Regions from separate parts of the Homo sapiens genome. Here region 2 is linked to region 1. The links are contacts of gene promoters, found by promoter capture Hi-C in human tissues and cell types (Jung and others, 2019). All regions are on one chromosome and are shown on one strand. Each heading gives the region's core, a stretch centred on a gene start or on the middle of the fragment in contact. The rest is flanking DNA. Distances are from core to core; before and after follow the strand shown.

Region 1 (6,578 bases), core at 1,115-3,614:
TTTACCTGTCACTTGCCTCCACTTTAAACTGCTGCAGTTATTTAAGCCTATTTACAATGTAAAAGAAGCAAGCAGCCACTAATTCATTTTAAGAAATGTCCCTTTGTCTAAAAAGTCTATGATTTAAAAGGGCTAGCCATTTTTATTGTCCCGTGAATTTCCAATTCATTAAGTTTTACTGCATAGCTATTAAAATCAATAGAACACACACTTTGAAGGTCAATAATTTAGAATAGATATTAAATAGTCTTAATATGTCCCTTTAGAATCACCTTTCTTTCGCCTCACTTTCCTGATATACTCTAAATACAACTAAAAATGATGTCTAGAAAGCAAGGAACTTCATTTTAAAATAACTTGCCTTTTTAAAAAAGATTATACATTGATATAGACCCTTCAGTGAAGTAAGTATGCAAAGTAGACATTCCACTCTGTGTAAGCAGGCACTGTAAGACTAAGTGTCTGGCAAACAGATGACTAAATCATTGGCAGAAAAAAAACAGAACTCAGGTCACAAAATAAGGAATTTAAAGTTCCAAGCAGGCCACTCACACTGATTTAAAAAAAAAAAAAAAAACCCTAGAGAACTGGTCAGCATTTACTTAATAAACAGCCAGGGTGATAAGCATACCTCAGGGTGATACAGATGAATTTTGATCTGAAACTTGACATGTATCTCCAAGGAACTGTATCACCAGGTGTTCTAAAATTTTTTTCCCAAGTCTACTATTAATGACCATGTTGACCAGATTCTTACTAACTAGCCATAAAAGCGTACTCAATGCCTGTTTCTGTCTTGCCTTCAAAGCTTGCAGTCATGTTCACATACAAAGGAACAGTAAAGGTAAAATGACCCAACCTCCTTCTCCTGTTGGTGACCACAAGGCAGCCTCTCTATTCCAAGGAGGTAATCTAAGCTTGCACAGATGGCCTAGCTCTCTGCTAATGCAGGGGTGCTGGGTTTGTTTTCAGGGTGGGTGCTGCAAAGCGCCAGGTATATTTATAGAAGGGAGCAAGACTACTATGGAGGGATGATGACAGAAGAGGAAGTTTCTTCCGCCCGGTAGAGACAGCCTGTGGAAAGATCTGGATTCCACAGCCTAGGTTCCACTCCTGACTCGTCAACTACCAGCTATGTAAACTTACTAAAACCTTTTTGGTCTGTTACCTTATGTATAAAATGCAGATAATGCCCCATTCCCTCAGAAGGTTGTCAGAATGATGAACGAGCATTGTGTATGTAAAACCTGGGACGTGATAGGCATTCAATAAATGTCGATCTGTCCTGCCCATCCTCCTGTTCACCCAGAATTGCGCCTCAAAAAATCACAAAGAGAGCCTGCAGCGTTAAAACTAAGAGGCCCAAGCTGGTTGGCAGGGAAAGAAACGACTTGGGTGGGGGCTCGCTTATTTCCTGGAGGACTTGGTTTAAAATGGAGTTAGGATATTGATCATGGACAAGACACACAGAAAAAGCACCAAGTACTAGCAAAACTGACAACAACAAAAACAAAAAGACATCCCTTTACTGTGAGCACGAAACAAACTTCGGAAGCAGCGGACATCCTGTGAACCTACTCAGTGGCCTCAATTAAAATCCCGAGGGTACCAAGAGCTAACCCAGAGGCACACCAGCCATATGCCGCCTCGTCAGTTTCAGGCCACGCCATTCCGCAAAACTGTCCGCAAGCCCTGACGGCTCTCGCGCCTCCACGCCTGGCCCAGATGCGTCTGGATGTCAGGAGCGAGCGGCAGAAGGGTACGGGGTGGGAAAGCGGAGAGGTCCGGTTGAATGTTTGAAAAACAAGGCGGTGGGTGAGGGGGCGGGGTGGAGCAATGTGGCAGAGACGCGGCCAGCGAGCCTGAGAGACCGCGGCTTCACAATGAACGAAAGGAAGAGACTGCGACAAGCGCCGGCGCCCGGTCCCCGGCGGGGACGGATGGTGAGGCCGGGGGCGCGCAGACGTGGGAAGCCGGGAAGGGGGCGCGGGATGCAACGAGTGAGTCGCTGACCAGGCAGGGAAGCCAAAGAGCTCCCAAGCAGGTGCAAAGCCCCCAAGCGAGCAGGAACGGACTGGGGATACTCACGGTGTAAAGCAGGTTGAGGGCGCACAGGCAGTTCTTGGAACACGCGAAGCCCCCGCAAACCATCTTGGAACCTGTGGTTGCCGGCAGCTGCACGTAAATTCGACTCCGGCGGAGGTTCCCTGACAGCTGCTTTGTCCTTGCCTTTGGGGCCTGGCCCAGGCGGGGCAGCAACGCAGACGTGGGTGGGGGGCCGGGGCCTGGGGCTGCAGTGCGCGGCGCGCGCGCGGCGGCGGCTCGGACCCGCTTTGGAACCTGCGGCCGCCGCAGCTGAGCCGGAGCAGGAGCCCGAGCCCCGCCCAGCCCCTTCGTCTCGCCCCGCGCGCTGATTGGCCGCTGGCAGGGAACAAAGGTAGAAATATGCAAATAAATGCGCTCCGCCGACCGGGATCCGGGAGGGGCGGAGCGGTCCCGGGGCGAGGGGGAGAGGGCCAAGGCCGTGTGGGAGGGAGCCCCAGGCCAGAGCGGCGGCCTTGGTGTAGTTTCCCCAGGAGCAGGTGAGGAGGGAGGGCGGGGCTCGGAGGAGATCCACGCTGGCAAGGAGAAATATGACAGCACCTCTGGATTCTTGGCCCTGGCAGATGACGTGGCACCATTTTGAATGAGATTTCAAAACTAAGCACCTGGCCTTGTTTGAGGGAAGGAAGGCAGGAAGCAAGTAATGAATGAAAACATGTGAAAGATTTAAAAGAGAACGAAGTAGAGGCAAATGAAAGGGAGAAAATAAGTGAAACAATAAAAAATAAAATAAAATCCCTGCTTCTCTCAGAAAATAAGATATGTGCCCTATAATTGTGACCTGGACAGGTCAGACTTATCCTACAAAGATTTGCAAAATACTAATAAACTTTATGAATACATGCATGCAAAGGAAAATCAAGAGCGGGAGAAGGTGGGGATGGTTAATAGGTCCAAAAAAATAGAAAGAATGAATAAGACCTACTATTTGATAGCACAATAAAGTGACAATCGTTAATAAGAACTTAATTGTGTATTTTAAAATAACTTAAAGAATGTAATTGGATTGTTTGTAACTCAAAGGATAAATGTTTCAGAGGATGGATACCCTATTCTCCGTGATGTGCTTATTTCACATTGCATGCCTGTATCAAAACATCTCATGTACCCCGTAAATATATACATCTGCTACGTGTCAACAAAAGTTTTTTAAAAAATTTTAAAAAGAAAATCAAGAGAGATTATTTTTGTGTTCTGGTCGTGAATTTCAATAAACTTATTTTTTCACAAAAATAACTGAAAATCTTCAAATAACTCAGACTTCACCTCAATTAATTCATTATCAGTTTACTGCTTCTCTACTATAGAAATGCATCTTGTATCCTTAATTCCTCACCTATAAATTGAGATTTTAGAAGTATGTCAAGCACTTTTTGCATAGTGGCTGGCACAGGGGAAGGCCTCAATAAATGTCAGCTAGTATTCATAGATCTGACATTTTGTAAAGGCCTACTGTGTTCCAGGCACTAAGCGAAGGCAATAAAGGTTTATTTACTTCATAGTAGTTTCTACCAAAGAAAAAGGTTTTATAAAGAGATTTGCAAGTTTACAATACTATATCTAACCTAAAGGTTCATACGGAGTAAATTATGTAATTGCAAATGCTAAATTGTATTAAATTAAATTAAACATTGCAGCTGATTAAAATAATTCGTCTTCTTAGAATTCTCTGCTCCCTCTTCCAGCCTCTCCTTCCCTCCCCTGACCCCACCATACCAACAAGACCTCATTAATTTGTTAGGCTTTCTATTCCACATTAACCTTTTATATACAGCTAGAAATATTTCAAAAACTAACCTGGAAAATGATCCTCAAACACAAACAATGCTTTGATGATGCTCAACTTTCCTTTTTAATAGCCAGAGGTTTACAAAAGATGAGGCATTGGCAGGGAAATCTATTCATTCTCTTCCCATTCCTGGGTGTCACCAACATTAGTACCACTTCAACTATCACTCAACCAACTATTGCAACTCTCTCTTTGGCTTCTGCATAATATCTTCACTATCTCCCTATAGGCTGAATCACTTTGTTTTCCCAGAGAAGTACCACCTATCAGTCAGGGTCCCAGCAAAAAGGAGATGACTCGTTCAAATAGCATAACTGAGAAGAATTTCAAAAAGGGACTATTTTCAAAAGTGTGGACAAAGTTAAAGGAAACCGGCTGGGTGCGGTGGCTCACACCTGTAATCCCAGCACTTTGGGAGGCCGAGGGTAGTGGATCACCTGAGGTCAGGAGTTTGAGACCAGACTGACCAACATGGTGAAACCCCGTCTCTACTAAAACTACAAAAATTAGCCAGGCGTGGTAGCGGGCACCTGTAATCCCAGCTACTTGGGAGGCTGAGGCAGGAGAATCACTTGAACCCAGGAGGTGGAGGTTGCAGTGAGCCAAGATCGCGCCACTGCTCTCCAGCCTGGGTGACAGAGTGAAATTCTGTCTCAAAAAGAAAAGGAAACCAACAAAGCATGATGAGGCAGCTCAGAGATAGTAAGAGCAGGAAGTTCTAATTACCCCTAAGACTAAGGGGGTGATTTAAGGGAACAGTTACAGAAGCCAGGCAAGAGCTATAGTTGTAGGAGAGTTGTCTGATAGGAGATACGGCTTTTGATAGAGGAAACAAAACAATGTCTGAAAATAGGAAAACAAATGGACATGTTGCAATTTCTCCTGATTTGGATATAGAAATTTTCAAAAGACCATTTGTTCCCACCCTAATAAGAACAAGCAGTCTGGACAACATAGTGAGACCCCATCTCTACTAAAAATTGAAAATATTAGCTGGGTGTGGTGGTGCATACCTGTAATCCCAGCTATCCCAGCTACTCAGGAGCCTGAGGGGGAAGGATTGCTGGAGCCCAGGAGATCAAGGCTGCAGTCAGCTATGATGGCGCCACAGCACTCCAGCCTGGGTGCAGACCAAGACCCTGTCTCAAAGTAAGTAAAAACAAGCTAGATAAGCTACCAAATCATACTTACAACAAAAAACTATCGAAGAACTGAGGGGCTAAAGGCACTAGAGGAACTAAAATCCAAGAAGTGATGAGACATTATTAGAGGGGGAAAAAAACTCATAGTCACTTTCATCTCTTATAGACTGGCTGTGGAAGGGAGAAACTACCTTTGAGAGGGATAAGGAGAAACTAAATGACTATTTAACCATCTTCTACTGCCCCTACCTGGACTATGTGACAGTTTATAATCCAGAGCCCCAGCTACAGAATGACTGCAACTATTTGCCAGCTCTAACCCATGGGCTTTCTTTTAAAACAAGACATATAAGCTACAAAGGCCGTGGTCAGGCAAGATTGCTGCATTAGTTCGTTTTCATGCTGCTGATAAAGACGTACCTGAAACTGGGCAGAAAAAGAGGTTTAATTGGACTTATATTTCCACATGGCTGGGGAGGCCTCAGAATCATGGTGGGAGGCGAAAGGCACTTCTTACATAGTGGTGGCAAGAGAAAAATGAGGAAGAAGTAAAAGCAGAAACCCTTGATAAACTCATCAGATGTCATGAGACTTATTCACTATCACGAGAATAGCATGGGAAAGACCGGCCCCCATGATTCAATTACCTACCCTGGGTACCTCCCAAAACATCTGGCAATTCTGGAAGATACAATTCAAGCTGAGATTTGGGTGAGGACACAGCCAAACCATGTCAAGTGCTAATAGATATTCTTCATCTCCAACTATTTCAAGGTGTATAAGCCTTCCCCAAATGCAAGATAGTGGCTAAAAGCTGGGGTAAAGTGAGGAAAAATAAGAAAAATTCCAGCAAAGCAATCTGGTTCTTTAACTCCAGGACTAACGTAGCAGCAGAAAAGAAAACTCTCTCTATGGTACACTGAAAGAGCCCTCCAATGGCTGGAATAGGATTCCACACAGGATAGCAAGAGATCTCACAAGATACAGAAAGCCAAGGATGTGAGTGGAGAGCAAAGACTATTCCCCAGCAAACAAAAAGGTAGCAGGCTGTAAAGCACAAAGATCTCCCAAGGCTCAGATTGCTGGTGGCTAGGCTGCAAAGCACGAAGAAATCTCTATGCAGACCTCCTTTCTGTAAGAGGAAAGTCTTGATCATGCCTTCAAGAATATTTGAAGCCAATAATGAACTGAATCTATTAAACCTATAACAAACCCTAATTCAGCTTAACTATAGTTTAGATGGACTTAGGCAACCACACCAGCAGCCTGACAGAATAAGGGATGTGCCATTTTCTGGGAGTAAATATTATTTACTTCAGGCTCTATTTTTCTTCAAGTTTGCAAGGCCACATTTTGGAAGAGCATATGTGATGAGACGTACTGTGGTGTCTTTAGAAAATAAAATCTGCCATAGGCAATGTCCTTCTTTCATATTATGCCTCCATATTGTTCCTTTGATGAAAAACTGCCTTTTTTTAAGTGAAAAAAAGAATGGGACACTGGACTACAGTTCTTCTCACAGAGTTATACTGGAGACTAAGCTA
Region 2 (6,578 bases), core at 2,564-5,063, 110 kb before region 1:
AAAGCAGTATTATTTATTAGGCAGTATACAAGCTTAGACAGAAAACTGGTTTAGGGCAGCAGTTCTAAGGCCTGCCTGTTTGAATATTAGAGCAATTTGAGTAGCTTTTTTAAAAATCCAAATTTATAATTAATCAGTCAAGTATTCCTTGAATGTCCACTGCTATGTACCAGACACTGTTCTAGGCTCAATAACCAAGTATACCATTTTTATTCTTAAAGACCTACTAAGTCTTTGGGAATGAAGCTGAGAAACATATTATTAAAAGCTCCCCAAGAATGAATGAAATATCTAAAGAACATTCTATTGCAATACTCTTTAAAGATAAATTAAGATTCCAAATTAACTATTGTTTCAATATTGGACAAGCATTAGAAAAGAAAGAAGTCTACAGAAGAATCTCACTTCCAAATATCGGTGTAACAAACAAACAACATATTAGTAAGGAGCACCAGCAGAACATTTAAAAATATACCCTGACAAATTGAGATTTAGCCTGGGAATGCCAGAGTGGTTTAGGATTAAGAAATGTACTAATTAAAATAATTTAATATTTATAAGGAGACAATTCATACAAGTATGTCTAATCTCCACCAATTCTGAAAATGCATTATAGAATAAAACATCTATATTTGAATTTTTAAGACTTTGTATTTGACAATATTAATTTCTTTAAATTAATCCCAACAACAGCATTCCAACAGTAGCAACAACAACAAAAAACCAACATTATGCTTACTGGGAAAACAAATAGAAGTGTCCCATTAAAGTGTGGATAAGACAAGTATATCTACAACCACAACAATTACTAACATTTTTCTGAAGTACTAACACAATTATAGAAGGAAAAAGTAGAAAATGTAGAAAGGAAAAGTTAAAATTATCTTTATGTGCAAATGATAATTTATATACGTGAAAAACTAAAAAAATTTAAATATTCAGAATAACAAAAATTCTGTTGAATTAGATGAGAATAAATTGATATTTAAAAATTGACTGCATTTATATATAGAAAAACACATCCAAAAAAACTTGTTAAATACCTCATTTACAATGACAAAAAAGAAAATACCCCAGAATAAACTTGACAGAAGATATGCAAAATCTATAAGAACCTAAATACACTGAAAAGAAAAAAGAAATTTCCAAACCAATGGCAGTGCATATTATATTCTTGGATAGAAAGACTTAACATCATAAAAATGCCAATTCTCTCTATACTTAAAAAACTTTTTAAGATGATCACAATAAATTGTGATAAGATTTTTTAAAAAGATAATTCTAAAGTTGAAATGAAAAAATAATAGACATGAGTAGTTAGGATAGTTAGGAACATTCTGAAAAGAGAGCAATAGGGATTAGGCCTTAATCATTATTAAACATTTTACAAAGCAATAATAAACAGTATATTACTTGTAAATAAATAAAATATAATAAAAGTATAGAAATAAAACTTTGAATGTAAATGGATTTGGACCTCCAATCAAAAGACATAGAGTGACTCAATGGATTAAAAAACAGGTTCCCCCTGCCCCCTGCAAAAAAAAAAAAAAAAAAAAACAAACTCACAAGCCCCAACTATAGGCTCAAGCGATCCTCCTGCCTCAGCCTTTCAAGTGGCTAGGACTACAAATGTGTGCCACCACATGGGCCAATTTTTGTACTTTTGGTAGAGACAGGGTTTCATCATGTTGCCCAGACTAGTCTCAAACTCCTAAGCTCAAGCAATCCTCCTACCTTGGCCTCCCAAAGTGCTGGGATTACAGGCATGAGCCACCATGCCAGGCCTCACTTCACCTTGAAGGATGTTTATTAACTGCAATTGAAAGGATCAAAAAATATATACTATATAAATGGAAACAAAACAAAACAAAACAAAGTAGCTATACTTAGATAAAACAGACTTTAAATCAAAAAATGTAAACAGAAACAAAGAAGGTCATTATATAATAACACAGAGATTAATTTACCAAGAAGGTATAACAATTATAAATATATGTTCATCCAACATCACAGTACCTAAATACATAAAGCAGATGTTAATAGATCTGAAAAGAGGAATAGATTACAACACAATAATAGTAAGGGACTTCAACACCCCACTTTCAACAATGAATAGATCATCCAAAAAGTCAATAAGGAAACATTGGACTTGAACTACACTTTAGACCAAATGGACCTAACAAACATATACAGAGCATTTAATCAAACAGCAAGAGAAGATACGTTCTCATAGCGTAGGAATTATTTTTTAGAACAGATCACATGACACATGAAACAAGTCTAACAAATTTAAGAAGACTTAAATTATATCAACTATCTTTTCTGACCATCAACAGATGAATTGATAAAATATGGTATATGTACACAATAAAATACTATTCAGCCATTGAAATGAAGGAAATCCTGAATAGCTATCCAAAGAGCCTATCTCCTTTGATGCTCACAATCCACTTAAAATTAAAGCGGTATTTAAAAATCATTCTATATACCCAGACATTAGTCTGGGCAATGATTTTTTTTCATATGACCTCAAAAACATGAGAAACAAAAGCAAAAATAGGCAAGTGAGATTACATCAAACTAAAAAGCTTCTGTACAGCAAAGGAGACAATAACAGAGTGAAGAAATAACCAACAGAATAGAAGACAATATATGAAAGCCATACATCTGAAAAGAAGCAAATATGCAAGAAACTCAATAACAAAACAAAAATGGAATTTGTGTTTTAAAAATGGACAAAAGACCTAAATAGACATTTCTTAAAAGAAGACATACAGGCTGGGCGCCGTGGCTCATACCTGTAATCCCAGCACTTTGGGAGGCCAAGGTGGGCAGATCACTTGAGGTCGGGAGTTCGAGACTAGCCTGACCAACATGGAGAAACCCCATCTCTACTAAAAATACAAAATTAGCCAGGCATAGTGGTGCATGCCTTTAATCCCAGCTACTCGGGAGTCTGAGGCAGGACAATCACTTGAACCTGGGAGGCGGAGGTTGTGGTGAGCCGAGATCGCACCATTGCACTCCAGCCTGGGCAACAAGAGCGAAACTCCATCTCAAAAAAAAAAGACATACAAAGGGCCAACAGGTAGATGAAAACAATACTTAACATCACTAATCATCAGGGAAATGCAAATTAATACCACAATGAAATACCACCTCACTCCTTTTAGAAAGGCTATTATCAAAAAGATGAATAATAGCAAGTGTTGGCAAGAATGTGGAGAAAAGAGAACCCTTTTACACTGTTGGTGGGAATGTAAATTAGTACAGCCATTATGGAAAGCATAATGTATAGAGATTACTCAAAAAAATTAAAAATAGAACTACCATATGATCCAGCAATTCCCTGCTGGGCATGTATCAAAAAGATAAAATCGGTATGTCTAAGAGATATCTGCACTCCCATGTTCACTGTCATTTGCAACAACATAGAAGAACCTGGAGAACATTATGGTGAGTGAAACAAGCCAGATACAGAAAGACAAATGTCACGTAATCTCACATGTGTAATCTAAAAAAGTCAAACTCATAGAAACAAAGGAAAATGGTGGTTACTAAAGTCTGGGGGTGAGGATGGGGAGTTCTTGCTCAAAGGACACACATTTCAGTTAAGTGAAATAAATTGAAGAGATCTGTTGTACATTGTGGGAATAATAGTTAATAACAATATATTTTATACATGAAAATTGCTGACAGTAAATTTTAAATATTCTCACCACAAAAAATAAGTATGTGAGATGATGAATATGTTAAATAGCTTGATTTAGCCACTGTACAACATATCCATATATCAAAACAGCATACTGTACACCATAAATATATACAACTTTTACTTGTCAAATAAATAAATAGATTATTGATAGGTAGTTGACAAACTCCATAGATAGATAGATACTACAGGAATTTTTTAATACAGGAAGTGGTATTTTAAATCAGGAATAGGGGAGACAGATTATGTAATAATTAGTGTCAGAAGTTGATAGTCATCTGGGAAAAACAAATAAATTTGTATCCATATCTCACATTTATGCAAAAATAAATTAGAAAGATATAATTATGAAAATTAAATCATTAAGGTGCTAGAAGATACCACTGCAAAATTTTATTTCTTTAAATGCTTGGAATAGGGGAGAGCCAAGATTATAGTGAGGCAAGAAAGATACCTGGGGTACAAAAATAAAGCCTCTAATTTTAGTCCTGTAGATGCTCCCCTGGCCTCATGCTAGTGCTGTCTGCTAGGCTTGAGCATAGCCAAACAAAGAAAAGGAGAAGATAAAAGAAAAAGTCTAAAAAGAAATTACTAATATTTTCAATTACACGGAATTTTCTGGATAACCAAAAACTTACAAAGGAAAAATATTCTTTTAAATGGAAAACTGCAGCACATATTAGAAGGGTGACTTTCTCTAATATACAACGTACTCCTATATATTAACAAGAAAAAGGTCAACAAGTCAACAGAAAAAAATGAGCAAAGAATATGGAAGTTCACAGAACAGAAAAATAAGTAACTCAAACATATAAGATTGACTATTTTTTATAAGAAAGACAAACCACATTCGTTTCCCTCTTTTCACCTGTTGGATAAAAAAAATTTAAACTAATAACCAGCTTTAGTGAGAATAGCAAAAACAATTACTGCTCACACTACCAGAGAGAATATGAATTGGTACAGCTTCTATGGAGAGTATATATCAGAATTATAAATGCACACACTCTGACTCAGAAATTCTACTTCTGGAAATGTATTCACAAACATACCCACCTATGTGCAAAATCATTTTTTAAAACAACAGCATGGTCTCTCATTTCAGGAACCTGGCATCTTCAGGGACAGTTACCTGCTTTTTAAAGGAGGTGAATTATAGTTTAATGTACTACAGGTCCTATACTATGGATGGGAACTATTACAGTTTATAATGTCAAAAACTTTTCTTAGACCAAAGATATCTTCCACAAAGGTAACAGACTGGATTGACCCATCATTCAATGATTTTCTAGAGTATAGAGACATCTCTACTATTACTGCCACATCATTAGGTGTGAATAACTCAAGTCATAGAGAAAAAAATGAGCCTTCTACATTAGAAAGTAAGATATTTCCAGCTAGAAAAATAGGAAATCTGTCTTCCTTAGAACAGATATATGGTTTAGAAAATTCAAAAGACTATCTGTCTGAAAATGAACCATGGGTAGATAAATATAAACCAGAAAGTTAGCATGAACTTGGCTGTGCATGAAAAGATAATTGAAGAAGTTGAAACCTGGTAAAAAGCTCAAGTCTTAGAAAGGCAACCAAAACAGGATGGATCTATTTTATTAATAACAGGTCCTCCTGGATGTGGAAAGACAACGACCAAAAAAACGCTATCAAAGGAGAATGGTATTCAAGTACAAGAGTGGATTAATCCAGTTTTACCAGATTTCCAAAAAGATGATTTCAAGGAAATGTTTCATACTGAATCAAGCTTCCATATGTTTCCCTATCAGTCTCAGATAGCAGTTTGCAAAGAGTTTCTACTAAGAGCAACAAAGTATAACAAGTTACAAATGCTTGGAGATCATCTGAGAACTGATAAGAAGATAATTCTGGTTGAAGATTTACCTAACCAGTTTATAGGGATTCTCATACTTTACATGAAGTTCTAAGGAAGTATGTGAAGATTGGTCGATATCCTTTTATATTTATAATCTGTGACAGTCTCAGTGGTAAAAATAATCAAAGTTTCTTGTTCCCCAAAGAAATTCGGGAAGAGCATTCTACCTCAAATATTAGTTTCAACCCTGTGGCACCAACAATTACGATGAAATTTCTTAATCGAATAGTGACTATAGAGGCTAACAAGAATGGAGGAAAAATTACTGTCCCTGACAAAACTTCTCTAGAGGTGCTCTGTCAAGGATGTTCTGGTGATATGAGAAGTGCAATAAACAGCCTCCAGATTTCTTCTTCAAAAGGAGAAAACAACTTATGGCCAAGGAAAAAAAGAATGTCTTTAAAATCAAATGCTACGCTGTCAAAATCAAAACAAAGAAAAAAAACTGATAGGGTTTTTGAAAGTCAAGAGGTCCAAGCTACTGGTGGCAAAGACGTTTCTCTGTTTCTCTTCCGAGCTTTGGGGAAAATTTTATACAGTAAAAGAGCATCTTTAACAGAATCAGACTCATCTTGGTTGCCCTCTCATTTATCAGAATATGAACAGGATACATACTTGTTGAACCTGAGGAGGTAGTAGAAATGTCACACATGCCAGGAGACTTATTTAATTTATATCTTCACCAAAACTACATAGACTTCTTCATGGAAATTGATGATATTGTGAGAGCCAGTGAATTTCTAAGTTTTGCAGGTATCCTCAGTGGTGACTGGAATACACGCTCTTTACTCAGGAAATATAGGACATCTATAGCTACAAGAGGTGTGATACATTCCAACAAAGCCGGAGGATATGCTCATTGCCAAGGAGAAGGATCAAGTTTTTGACCCTCGCACACACCGCAGTGGTTTCTAATACATAAAAAGTATGGGGAAAATTGCCTGGCAGCAAAAGCACTTTTTCCTGACTTCTGCC

The links. The method cuts DNA at HindIII sites, captures the fragments that hold promoters and counts their contacts. A contact is called where the count stands out against the background at its distance.
Region 2: a fragment that was not itself captured here is called in contact with the fragment with the promoter of TSPAN13 in region 1 in 4 of the 25 tissues and cell types used here (H1 embryonic stem cells, IMR-90 fibroblasts, aorta and 1 more).

Annotation. Positions count from the first base shown.
Region 1 is chr7:16,749,541-16,756,118 of GRCh38, reverse strand. It overlaps TSPAN13 (tetraspanin 13), which reads right to left and starts at 2,364. Exons shown (of 6, transcript NM_014399.4): 1 at 2,089-2,364. The coding sequence starts at 2,151. The HindIII fragment of the contact is 15,712 bases long and covers 122-6,578 here.
Region 2 is chr7:16,864,656-16,871,233 of GRCh38, reverse strand. The region is part of intron 3 of AGR3 (anterior gradient 3, protein disulphide isomerase family member); the gene reads left to right. It also overlaps the pseudogene RAD17P1. Among named protein-coding and RNA genes, the nearest start is that of AGR3, 14 kb to the left of the region's middle. The HindIII fragment of the contact is 5,002 bases long and covers 1,313-6,314 here.